Regions from separate parts of the Homo sapiens genome. Here all the other regions are linked to region 3. Evidence: promoter capture Hi-C in 16 types of primary human blood cells and fetal thymus (Javierre and others, 2016). All regions are on one chromosome and are shown on one strand. The core of a region is centred on a gene start or on the middle of the fragment in contact, and the rest is flanking DNA. Distances in the headings are between cores, read along the strand shown.

The links. The method cuts DNA at HindIII sites, captures the fragments that hold promoters and counts their contacts. A CHiCAGO score of 5 or more calls a contact.
Region 1: a contact is called between a fragment that was not itself captured here and the fragment with the promoter of RHO in region 3, in 1 of 17 cell types (endothelial precursors). The highest score is 5.1, in endothelial precursors.
Region 2: a fragment that was not itself captured here is called in contact with the fragment with the promoter of RHO in region 3 in 1 of 17 cell types (M2 macrophages); the score reaches 5.1 in M2 macrophages.

What each region holds. Positions count from the first base shown.
Region 1 is chr3:129,410,535-129,414,872 of GRCh38, forward strand. It overlaps EFCAB12 (EF-hand calcium binding domain 12), which reads right to left. Exons shown (of 9, transcript NM_207307.3): 5 at 624-820. Among named protein-coding and RNA genes, the nearest start is that of SNORA7B, 15 kb to the left of the region's middle. RefSeq lists an enhancer at 249-749. The HindIII fragment of the contact is 4,372 bases long and covers 1-3,460 here.
Region 2 is chr3:129,642,977-129,647,270 of GRCh38, forward strand. No RefSeq gene overlaps it. Among named protein-coding and RNA genes, the nearest start is that of PLXND1, 38 kb to the left of the region's middle. The HindIII fragment of the contact is 3,721 bases long and covers 1-3,592 here.
Region 3 is chr3:129,526,062-129,530,039 of GRCh38, forward strand. RHO (rhodopsin) reads left to right here and starts at 2,578. Exons shown (of 5, transcript NM_000539.3): 1 at 2,578-3,033. The coding sequence starts at 2,673. RefSeq lists a silencer at 131-331 and enhancers at 2,529-3,254, 3,255-3,978. The HindIII fragment of the contact is 8,320 bases long and covers 1,009-3,978 here.

The sequences.
Region 1 (4,338 bases), core at 25-2,524, 120 kb before region 3:
CTCGAACTCCTGGGCTTAAGCAGTCCTCCTACCTTGGCCTCTCAAAGCGCTGGGCTAACAGGTGCGAGACACCACTCCCAGACTATATTATATATGAATATTTATATGTAGTATTGTATTGATGTTGTCTGCCTCCCTTACCAGACTGTCAGCTTCCTAGGGGCAGGGACTGTTATGCTTACTATAACACCCGGAAGAGTGCCTGGCACATGGTAGGCTCTCAATAAATGTTTACTGGACAAGCTAATTCATGCAATCAATCCTTCCTTCACTTGCCATGTATTTCTGGAGAGTCTACCCAGTGTCAGGCCCTGTGCCAGGTGCCTGGATTCCAGCTGTGATGAAAATGCAGGCCTGGTCTAAGGATGAAAAGTCATAATTAAAGAATAGGGAGAGGGGGACGTGATAGTTTCAGAAACAGGATCTTACTACATTTTACAAAAACCTCAGGAGGCAGGTATTGTTCTTATTTTACAGATGAGGGACGTGAAGAAGGGGTGGTTGTAGAGGCGAAGACCCCCCTCCCCAGGGTTCTGCAGCCAGCGGGTGGTGCTGCTGCGGTGATCTGAACCCCAGCTGCTCCAGTCCCCAAGCCGCATGCTCTCCTTGGGCTGGCGAGGTACCTTGTGCTGTCGCTGCCGCTCGCGGTACCGCTTGCCCACTTCCTCCATCTCCTCCAGGGTCATGGGCCGCGTCTCCATCTGCGTGTCGACTGCAGGCACCGTCAGTAGGTCCACTTTGGGAAGCTGTGGGGCTGAATCCACCTCCTGCTTCTTGAGCGGACCCTTCAGGGAATCTCTGTGCTTGGCCAAGATATAATCTGGAGTCAGAGGGAAGAGATGAAGGAAGGAGGGACTAAGAGGGTGCCCAGCCACGGAACCTGCCAAGCAGTTATCCAGTGTCACCCAGCAGGCACCAGGCCACCCCTCCGCTCCCTTCCCACACGTCTGGGCAGTGCCCACCTAAGCCACCTAAGCTGTACCTTAGATGTGGCCCTCCTCTCCATCTCCACTAATGGCGTCCCTTACTGCACCAACCCCAGCCCTCTGGTTGCCATTCTCGTCCTGTCACCCTGTCTCACCAAGCAGCAAATAGGATCTTTAAAAAATATAGAGTATAGCCAGGCGCGGTGGCTCACGCCAGTAATCCCAGCACTTTGGGAGGCCGAGGAGGGCGGATCATGAAGTCAGGAGATCGAGACCATCCTGGCTAACACTGTGAAACCCCGTCTCTACTAAAAATACAAAAAATTAGCCGGGCATGGTGGCACGTGCCTGTAGTCCCAGCTATTCGGGAGGCTGAGGCAGAATTGCTTTAACCTGGGACCTGGAGGTTGCAGTGAGCCGAGATCGTGCCACTGCACTCCAGCCTGGGTGACACGGTGAGACTCCCTCTCAAAAACAAACAAACAAAAAATATAGAGCAGGGTACTTTGGGAGGCTGAGGCGAGTGGATCAGCTGAGGTCAGTAGTTCAAGACCAGCCTGACCAATATGGTGAAACCCCATCTCTACTAAAAATACAAAAATTAGCCGGGTGCAGTGGTGTGCACCTGTAGTAGTTACTTGGGAGGCTGAGACAGGAGAATTGCTTGAACCCGGGAGGTGGAGGTTGCAGTGAGAAGAGATCACACCACTGCACTCAAACCTGGATGGCAGAGCAAGACTCCATCCCCCCCCAAAAATATATATACACATATATAAAGCAGGGTGCAGTGGCACGCCTGTGGTTCTAGCTACTCAGGAAGCTGAAGTGGGAGGATTGCTTATGCCCAGGAATTTGAGGCTGCAGTAAGCTATGATCACACCTGTGAATAGCCACTTCACTCCAGCCTAGGCAACATAAGGAGACCCCATTGCATGAGTCTCCTTATGTTGGATATGTGTAGATGGATGGATAGATAGATAGATAGATAGATAGATAGATAGATAGATAGATAGATAGACAGACTGACCGACCGACCAGATCGCCTCATTCCCTTGGCTTCCCACAGCATTTAGACCAAAACCCAGAGTCCTCTCCCTGGGCTACAAGGCCCTGCTGTACCATCTGGCCTCAGCTGCCTTCCCACCTGGTCCATGGCATACCATTCACCCTTCACCCATTCCACCCAGCCACCCTGACCACCTTCTGTCTCTTGCAAGCTATCCTACCCCAGGGCCTTTGCCTTCACAGTTCTATCTGCCTAGATTGTGCTTCCCCCAAGACTAGTTCCTGTCAATCACTCAGATGTCAGCTCCAATGTCTGCTTCTCAGAGAGGCCGTCCCTGACCACCAGCCCTTTAGGTGCAAGCTCATCGAAAGCTGGGGCTTTGGCTGGCCCACTGCTGTGTTCCCAGTTTCTAGAAGTGGCACATAGTAGTTGCTCAACAAAGATTCCAATGAATGAAAGAATCCCATTGTCCCTGCCCTGGTTCAGACCTTCATCGTCTCAAGCTGAAATAATATCCTGACCTTACCACCTTCTATTGAGGCTGTGAACAAGTGGCTCAGCCTCTCTGAGCTCCAGCTTCCTCCTCGTAAAGCAGGAATAGCAATCCTGACCTCTGCGGACATAAAGGATAAACTGAGATCATTCTGCAAGAATGAAGAAGAGCTACTGCAAGAAGAACTACTGGAAGAAGGCACCCCTGCCAAGACGCTCAAACTCTTGCCTCTTTAGACAAAGTGAGAGACACCCGGACAGAGCAGGAGCACCGTCATCTGGGACAAACACCGCCACTTTAAGTTCCAGCTCCCTTTCTAGCCTCATGCATTTCAAGGAAATCACTTCTCTTCTAACTATAAGCAGCCAGAAAGAGCAGACAGTAAAACACAGACAAGACAGCTCAGGCACAGAGGGAGGTCGGGGGAAAGTCTCTTGGGTGACTGCCAAACTTCACCCTCATACAATGGGCCCCAGTAAAACTGTGGGCCTTAATAAGCACATTCCTTTCCCTTCAGGTGCACTAAGATAGGGAAGCTAAAAGCAGACTTGGGGGATATGCCTGCAGCTGCAGAAAGATGTATGGAAACAGACACGCAACTCTGCCTCCCAGATAAACACAACAAAGAGACAGAGAAGCAGTCCAAGCCTCTGATAAACTCTTCCACTGTGAATCCTTAAAAACTCTTAGTCTGTAAGAGAATGTGGCTCTGACCTAACTCAGCCAGCAGCCCCTCTCAGGTTTGTTTTCTCTAAAATAAACCTGTCTTTGACTATTGAGCCACCTTTCCTGTTTCTTTCCTCTTTCTTTAATTCTTACACACCCCAGTCTACCTATCTTACCCACTATTGCTCACCAGGGAAAAAGAACTCAGTGATGACGCCAAAGTAGCACCATGAGAGCAAAGGTCTGCTGCTTGGCTTTGTGTTTACTTACTGGGAAATAACAGGACCCAAAATATCTCTGCTGCGAATATGCATCACAGCACACTGTGGTCATTGAAATGACTCACAGCCAGCTACACAGATAATGATAAGCTTGGTAATTTATAACAAAAAGGCACAAAGAGTATCAGAGGGAAAGCAGCCCAACTTGAGGTGACCTTAAAAATGTGCTGGACATAAAGGAGATTACTACTGTTGGGGTGGTGACACATGCAGGAGCGACTGTTGGGGTGCTGAGCTTCCCTGAGCTCTGAGAGAGGCAGAGACCCTGCTTGGGAGGTGATAGTTTCTCTGCAGGGCAGCTGGTTGAGACTGGACATTGAAAATCTCCTGGAGGACTGAGGAATGGATGCTCTGAGCTGCCTGCTGTCCCCAAATGAGCCACTCCAGTGAGGATGCTGAGTAACTCCTCTTGGTGTGACTGTAAACTCCAACGGCCTCACCCCAGATCTTTACCATTGTTAGGAAACCCCTCCACTGCCTCCTCCAGGGCTCCTGTGTGACTCAGGGAGGACAAGGAAGCCCCAAACATGCATGAGATTAAGTTCCTGCCAACCTGGTAGATGGGAACAGAGCAAGATTTGTTTCATTTAGAAAAACAAAGCTGTGGCTATGTTTGGGAAGGGTGCTAGAATGGGTGGGTGGTTGTAATGGTTCTTTTTTGTTTGTTTGTTTACTACAAGAATGGTACTAAGATATAAAGAAATATTATACAATGCACCTTTGTGTTGTAGAGTAAATTCACAGCCAGAGCTTTAGCAAGTCCATTTCTAATTTGCCTCTGTGCCTTGTCTGGACAGATGTGGCCCCACAAATGTATTGCTTGGCAGATGGAACTTGAGCCATGTACAACCTTTACAACTGTTGACAGCAACCCTGCCATAATACCCCTGATAGCAGAATACCAAAATACACTTTCCAGTAAACTGTAAACATGTGCTAATTCTGGTTCTGAACAAGAATTTTATC
Region 2 (4,294 bases), core at 482-2,981, 120 kb after region 3:
AGTTCCACTTTTTAATGAGCACCAATTCTGGGCCAGGCATTGTTTCAGGCACTTAGGACATAGCCACAAACTGACAACGTCCCTGTCACTGTGCTGGTTAAGAAATTATAAGTAAAATAGATTATCAGCCAATTATATGTGTATTCACTCGCAAAGGCTTTTTTGTTTCGTTTTGTTTTGTTTTTGAGATAGAGTCTATGTTGCCCAGGCTAGTCTTGAACTCTGGGCCTCAACCAATCCACCTGCCTTGGCCTCCCAAAGTGTTGAGATTACAGGCGTGAGCCACTGTGCCTGGCCCCATTTGCGAGTTTTTGTTCTTATGGACACGATATTCTTTTCTTGTCCCCATGGCCAGCCCATTCTCTGACACATACTGATTTTTTGGTTCCCCAAACCAACTTAAGAGCCAGGGCTGGCTGAGGATAGCCCAAATTCTGGCTACTGGGCTCTTCGTTGGTAAGAATGGGAGATGTGCTATATTCTGAAGAGAGTTAGATGAGTGACACAGGTGCCTGTCCTCTAGGAATTCTCAGTCTACTAATAATCAAGATCATGGTATAGCACTTTCTCTTGCCAGATGCTGGGCTAGGCTCTGTACAATTTTCATTTAATCCTCATAACCTTCACAACCTTCTGTTAAGGTAAAGTGGTTATTAAAATTCTTAAAAGAGGCCAGGCGCGGTGGTTCATGCCTATAATCCCAGCACTTTGGGAGGCTGAGGTGGGTGGATCACCTGAGGTCAGGAGTTCGAGACCAGCGACCAGCCTGGCCAACATGGTGAAACCCCGTCTCTACTAAAAAATACAAAAAATTAGCTCGGTGTGGTGGCACAGGCCTATAATCCCAGCTACTTGGGAGGCTGAGGCAGGAGAATCACTTGAACCTGGGAGATGGAGGTTGCAGTGAGCCAAGATCGTGCCACTGCACTCCAGCCTGGGCGACAGAGCAAGACTCTGTCAAAATAAAATGAGATGAAATAAAATAAAATAAAATACTTAAAATAAAAACTTTAGACAAGTTAAATTTAACAAAGAATGATTCATGAATTGGGCAGCCCCTAAGACCAGGACAGGTCAGTGAGAGTCTGGGGCTGCCATATGGCTAAGTAACATTTATGGACAGAAAAAGGCAAGTGGTGTATAAAAAATTGAAGTGAGGTATGCAGACCTCACTTATTCTTGTTAAACTTATTCTGGGCTTGTACCTTATTTCAACAGTTGGCTGCCTGTGGTTGACTGAAGTTCGGCTGCTGTGATTGGCGGAGACTTGGCTACTCGTTACAAGAGTAGGTTCCAATCTGCTTATGCCTGGCTAGGTTACAGTTCCCTATGTATGGAGAAACCTTTAGGCCAAACTTAAGATATGTACAGAAGCAGCTTTAGGCAAAATTTAACATAATTCATTTTCATCATGATTTGTTGCACCTTTTAATACAGTCTCGAAAACTATTGAACTGAATTCTTTCAACAGATAAAGAATATTCTCTTGAACAGCTTAAACATTCAGTAAGACAGAAGCATGAATAAATTTTGTCAAGTACTCTTGCTCTGGGATTTAAGGATTGTAATACCAAAGGTGACAGGGATTTTTTTTTTTTTTTTGAGATGGAGTCTTGCTCTGTCGCTAGGCTGGAGTGCAGTGGCGTGATCTCGGCTCACTGCAACCTCCGCCTCCCAGGTTCAAGCAATTCTCCTGCCTCAGCCTCCCAAGTAGCTGGGACTACAGGTGAGTGCCACCACGCCCAGCTAATTTTTGTACTTTTAGTAGTGACGGGGTTTCACCATGTTGGCCAGAATGGTCTCCATCTCTTGACCTCGTGATCCGCCTGCCTCGGCCTCCCAAAGTGCTGGGATTACAGGCGTGAGCCACAGCGCCTGGCCCAGGGATTTTTTTTTTTTAAAAGAACTGAACTCTGAGTTGCCTACACCCTTTTTCCACTTATCAAAAAACTGTGAAGAGCCTCTACTTACAGGATCAATAGGCAAAAGACCAAATACCTTGGACACCATTCCTCAAACACCCAACTGATTGGGATGACCTGAAAAACAGGTTTCTGGTTTCTTCTCAAAGGGCTGTAATTAAACAGAAGGCTGGGTCACCTTTCAACACCTGTAATGGCTTCTCTTGTAGTCACAAGGTAAACCTTTAGCGTGGTATTCAAGATTTCTTGCAACTTGGCCCCCACATATGATTCTCACACATTCTTTCAGGCACCCTACCAGTCACTTAAGGCTCCTTATCCATTGCTTGAACTGCTCACCTAGGCCGTTTTCACCTCTGTGGTTTTGCTAATACCTCCAATAGAAATGCCCCCTCACCTATTTCTGCTCATCATAAAGCCACCATCTTTCAGTCCAGATACCATGGCCTCCTCCGTTGAGCCTTTCCCTATTGCTCTGTTAGAATTGCTTCCTCCTCTTTGCTCCCACACGTCTTCTGCCTCTTTACCACATGTATTTCATTCTACTAAGTTCCTTTTTCCACAGCCCAGTCTTGTATAGAGTGGCTCTTAAGTGCTGCTGGCTAAATAGGAGGTACCAGCTGCTGCTGTCACCTCTGCACGTGCTCCTCCTTCTCAGCCCGCAGGGCTTCTGGCAGCGGGACATCTATGTGACCCCCAAGCCTAGAAATCCAGGGCTGGAAGAAAGCTCAAGGGGTGGCCCAAACTTGGTCTAGAGCCCCCTCTAAGGCAATCTGGAGGCAAAAGATGGTCTAGTATGATCTGTCATTAGGAACACTATCAATTCTTTTTTCACTTCTCACTGGACCTATTTTTAAGTTTTTGATATATTTAATTTAAAAAATACACAAATACATTTTCTTCAAAGAGATTCATACTTTATAGAAGCCAAGCATGAAAGTGCTGCTTAACCACTGTTCCTCCCTCTCCCTTCCCAAAATAACGGGAAAGTTTAATGCAAAGTTTTTACACATCCACATGCATATATTTACACAAATATACATATTCTCAACATAAATGGGAGACAATATATTGTTCCACAGTTGGCTTTTTAAATCTTAATGCACTGATTATACAGGAGGCTGAACAATTTTCTGGTATGCTTATTGGTCATTTTTCTTTTCTTTTTTTTTTTTTGAGACAGAGTCTCGCTCTGTCGCCCTGGCTGCTGGAGTGCAGCGACACCATCTCGGCTCACTGCAAGCTCCGCTTCCTGGGTTCACGCCATTCTCCTGCCTCAGCCTCCCGAGTAGCTGGGACTACAGGCGCCTACCACCATGCCCGGCTAATTTTTTTGTCTTTTTAGTAGAGACGGGGTTTCACCATGTTAGCCAGGATGGTCTCGATCTCCTGACCTCGTGATCCACCCGCCTCAGCCTCCCAAAGTGCTGGGATTACAGGCGTGAGCCACCGCGCCCAGCCGCTTATTGGTCATTTTTCTATAAGCTCTCTGTTTATAACTATTGCCTGTCTTTTCTATTGAGCTGTTACCAATAGGAAAGATGATTATTGATTTGTAGTCTTAAATATTGTGGACGCTCATTTTTTGTTATATATGTCGCATAGACCTATTTTCCATTGCATTAATTTACCATTTCCTAACATTAATTTTGGGCAAGCCATTTAACCCAAGCTTCAGAGTTCTTACCTAAACAATGAGGATATCTCCTGCATAAGACTGTGGGGGAGAATTGACTGATAAAACTGAATGATGTCTGGCACTCAGTAAATACTCAATAAACGTTAGCTATTCTTCACTATAGACTTGGGGCTACAAGTCAGCTAAATGTTTAGTTTGGACCATAGGATTTAAGTATATTTGAACCCTTCAGGTGAAGCATGCATTTCTAGTTGACCATACCTTCCTCTGCCTCCCCAATCTGTTTTCTACACCACAGCTTCTCAAATTTATGTCATCTGCCTTCCACTCTCTGAAGTTTTCTTTTTTTGAGACAGGGTCTCGCTCTGCCACCTAGCCTAGAGTGCAGTGGTGTAATCATAGCTCACTGTAATCTCAAACTCCTGGGCTCGAGTGATGCTATCACCTCAGCCTCCTGAGTAGCTGGGACTACAGGTGCCTGCCACCACACCTAGCTAAATTTATTTTTTGTAGAGATAGGGGTCTCACTATGTTGCCCAGGTTGGTATCAAACTCCTGGCCTCAAGTAATCCTCCAACCTTGTCCTCCCAAAGTTTTGGGATTACAGGTGTGAGAGCCACCACACCCAGTTTTTACTGGCATTCAGTAAGTCTCCAAGGTTTTTAAAGGATAAAAATAAAGCAGGTTTTGAAATTATGTATCGCCCATTATCATGGCAGCTCTATGTGTCCCG
Region 3 (3,978 bases), core at 1,328-3,827:
AAACTAGTGGTGTGCACTTGTGGTCCCAGCTACTCAGGAGGCTGAGGTGAGAGGATCGCTTGAGCCCAGGAGGCAGAGGCTACAGTGAGCTATGATTGTGGCACTGCACTCCAGCCTGGGCGACAGAGACCTTGTCTCAAAACTTTTTTTTTCTTCGTCAAGCTTTACAGAATAAAGAGCACTGTCACCTCAGTGATGGCTGTTAGTTCCCCATCACCAGGGCTCCATGAGGTTGCAATTGTGAAACTCACAAAGGAGGAACCTGAGACAGAGAGGGGAAGTACTGAGATCATCTAGGTCCATTCCCCCACTCACTCGTTCATTCAACAAATATTCAGGAGCACCTTCTAGGTGCCAGGCCCTGGAGACACATCAGTGAACAAAACAGACATCATCCCACCTCTTTCCACTACAGGCCAAGCACCATGCTGGTCTCTGGGAACCCTGTTGTGAGCAAGACAGACCCAGGCTTACCCTTGTGGACTCATGTTACAGGCAGGGAGACGGGCACAAAACACAAATAAAAAGCTTCCATGCTGTCAGAAGCACTATGCAAAAAGCAAGATGCTGAGGTACTGCTAAGCTGTGTGGGATGGGGGCTCAGCCCGGCCAGGGAGGGGCCAGTTGTGGGTCAGTCTTGACCCAAGGCATCCAGGACACCCTCCTTCTGGCCATGAGGGTCCACGTCAGAATCAAACCCTCACCTTAACCTCATTAGCGTTGGGCATAATCACCAGGCCAAGCGCCTTAAACTACGAGAGGCCCCATCCCACCCGCCCTGCCTTAGCCCTGCCACGTGTGCCAAACGCTGTTAGACCCAACACCACCCAGGCCAGGTAGGGGGCTGGAGCCCAGGTGGGCTGCAGGGAAGGGGGCACTCTTCTGAGCAGACAGATCTGGGAATCCTGGGTGGGAAGAGAGACAGTGAGAGAGAGATTAAGGGATATTTCCCAGGCATCAGGGCTTTGCACTCTCAGGGGTCCTTCCGCCTGGATGTCCTTCCCCTGAAGCTTCCTCCTGTTGTTCCGTTCTCAGCTCAAGCTCCAGCTTCTCAGAGAAGCCTCCTGTGTTGGGAGTGGCTGCGACTGAACTGTCCCTACTGTTATTCGCTCTTCTATTTGTTTGTGGTCCCTGTGCCCCCTCACCCCACAAAAACACTGGCTTCTTGTGAGCAGGAGCTTGCTCTTTCGTGTACCCTGTGTGTCCCCAAGGACCAAGCACCTTGTCTGGGCCACAGTAGGTGCTCAATACACATGTTGGCTGGACAGTGGTCACTGAGCGGCCGCACGTCGGGCACTCTCAGCACTTGCACAGGCCGCCCCAGACACCCCACTTCATTCCTGGGAGGTGTCATCATGTTGCTTGGACGACGGGGAGAGGGGGACCTGCCAGTGTTGGCCTCCATTTTCCCCCAGTCATCTGCCCCCAAGGCTCTGACTACTTTCTTTCTCACGGTACATCCTGCTATTCTGGAATCGGCCCTCGTGGGGCCACCTGGTACATGGCATTTGAGGCCCTCGTGGCTGATTAGGCCTCCCCCAACAGTGCCCTGTCTGCTGCCTCCAGGGCCAGCCTCCCCTTCAGACTGGAGTCCCCTGAAGGGTTCTGCCCCTCCCCTGCTCTGGTAGCCCCCTCCATCCTCCCTCCCTCCACTCCATCTTTGGGGGCATTTGAGTCACCTTTCTACACCAGTGATCTGCCCAAGCCACTGCTCACTTTCCTCTGGATAAAGCCAGGTTCCCCGGCCTAGCGTTCAAGACCCATTACAACTGCCCCCAGCCCAGATCTTCCCCACCTAGCCACCTGGCAAACTGCTCCTTCTCTCAAAGGCCCAAACATGGCCTCCCAGACTGCAACCCCCAGGCAGTCAGGCCCTGTCTCCACAACCTCACAGCCACCCTGGACGGAATCTGCTTCTTCCCACATTTGAGTCCTCCTCAGCCCCTGAGCTCCTCTGGGCAGGGCTGTTTCTTTCCATCTTTGTATTCCCAGGGGCCTGCAAATAAATGTTTAATGAACGAACAAGAGAGTGAATTCCAATTCCATGCAACAAGGATTGGGCTCCTGGGCCCTAGGCTATGTGTCTGGCACCAGAAACGGAAGCTGCAGGTTGCAGCCCCTGCCCTCATGGAGCTCCTCCTGTCAGAGGAGTGTGGGGACTGGATGACTCCAGAGGTAACTTGTGGGGGAACGAACAGGTAAGGGGCTGTGTGACGAGATGAGAGACTGGGAGAATAAACCAGAAAGTCTCTAGCTGTCCAGAGGACATAGCACAGAGGCCCATGGTCCCTATTTCAAACCCAGGCCACCAGACTGAGCTGGGACCTTGGGACAGACAAGTCATGCAGAAGTTAGGGGACCTTCTCCTCCCTTTTCCTGGATCCTGAGTACCTCTCCTCCCTGACCTCAGGCTTCCTCCTAGTGTCACCTTGGCCCCTCTTAGAAGCCAATTAGGCCCTCAGTTTCTGCAGCGGGGATTAATATGATTATGAACACCCCCAATCTCCCAGATGCTGATTCAGCCAGGAGCTTAGGAGGGGGAGGTCACTTTATAAGGGTCTGGGGGGGTCAGAACCCAGAGTCATCCAGCTGGAGCCCTGAGTGGCTGAGCTCAGGCCTTCGCAGCATTCTTGGGTGGGAGCAGCCACGGGTCAGCCACAAGGGCCACAGCCATGAATGGCACAGAAGGCCCTAACTTCTACGTGCCCTTCTCCAATGCGACGGGTGTGGTACGCAGCCCCTTCGAGTACCCACAGTACTACCTGGCTGAGCCATGGCAGTTCTCCATGCTGGCCGCCTACATGTTTCTGCTGATCGTGCTGGGCTTCCCCATCAACTTCCTCACGCTCTACGTCACCGTCCAGCACAAGAAGCTGCGCACGCCTCTCAACTACATCCTGCTCAACCTAGCCGTGGCTGACCTCTTCATGGTCCTAGGTGGCTTCACCAGCACCCTCTACACCTCTCTGCATGGATACTTCGTCTTCGGGCCCACAGGATGCAATTTGGAGGGCTTCTTTGCCACCCTGGGCGGTATGAGCCGGGTGTGGGTGGGGTGTGCAGGAGCCCGGGAGCATGGAGGGGTCTGGGAGAGTCCCGGGCTTGGCGGTGGTGGCTGAGAGGCCTTCTCCCTTCTCCTGTCCTGTCAATGTTATCCAAAGCCCTCATATATTCAGTCAACAAACACCATTCATGGTGATAGCCGGGCTGCTGTTTGTGCAGGGCTGGCACTGAACACTGCCTTGATCTTATTTGGAGCAATATGCGCTTGTCTAATTTCACAGCAAGAAAACTGAGCTGAGGCTCAAAGAAGTCAAGCGCCCTGCTGGGGCGTCACACAGGGACGGGTGCAGAGTTGAGTTGGAAGCCCGCATCTATCTCGGGCCATGTTTGCAGCACCAAGCCTCTGTTTCCCTTGGAGCAGCTGTGCTGAGTCAGACCCAGGCTGGGCACTGAGGGAGAGCTGGGCAAGCCAGACCCCTCCTCTCTGGGGGCCCAAGCTCAGGGTGGGAAGTGGATTTTCCATTCTCCAGTCATTGGGTCTTCCCTGTGCTGGGCAATGGGCTCGGTCCCCTCTGGCATCCTCTGCCTCCCCTCTCAGCCCCTGTCCTCAGGTGCCCCTCCAGCCTCCCTGCCGCGTTCCAAGTCTCCTGGTGTTGAGAACCGCAAGCAGCCGCTCTGAAGCAGTTCCTTTTTGCTTTAGAATAATGTCTTGCATTTAACAGGAAAACAGATGGGGTGCTGCAGGGATAACAGATCCCACTTAACAGAGAGGAAAACTGAGGCAGGGAGAGGGGAAGAGACTCATTTAGGGATGTGGCCAGGCAGCAACAAGAGCCTAGGTCTCCTGGCTGTGATCCAGGAATATCTCTGCTGAGATGCAGGAGGAGACGCTAGAAGCAGCCATTGCAAAGCTGGGTGACGGGGAGAGCTTACCGCCAGCCACAAGCGTCTCTCTGCCAGCCTTGCCCTGTCTCC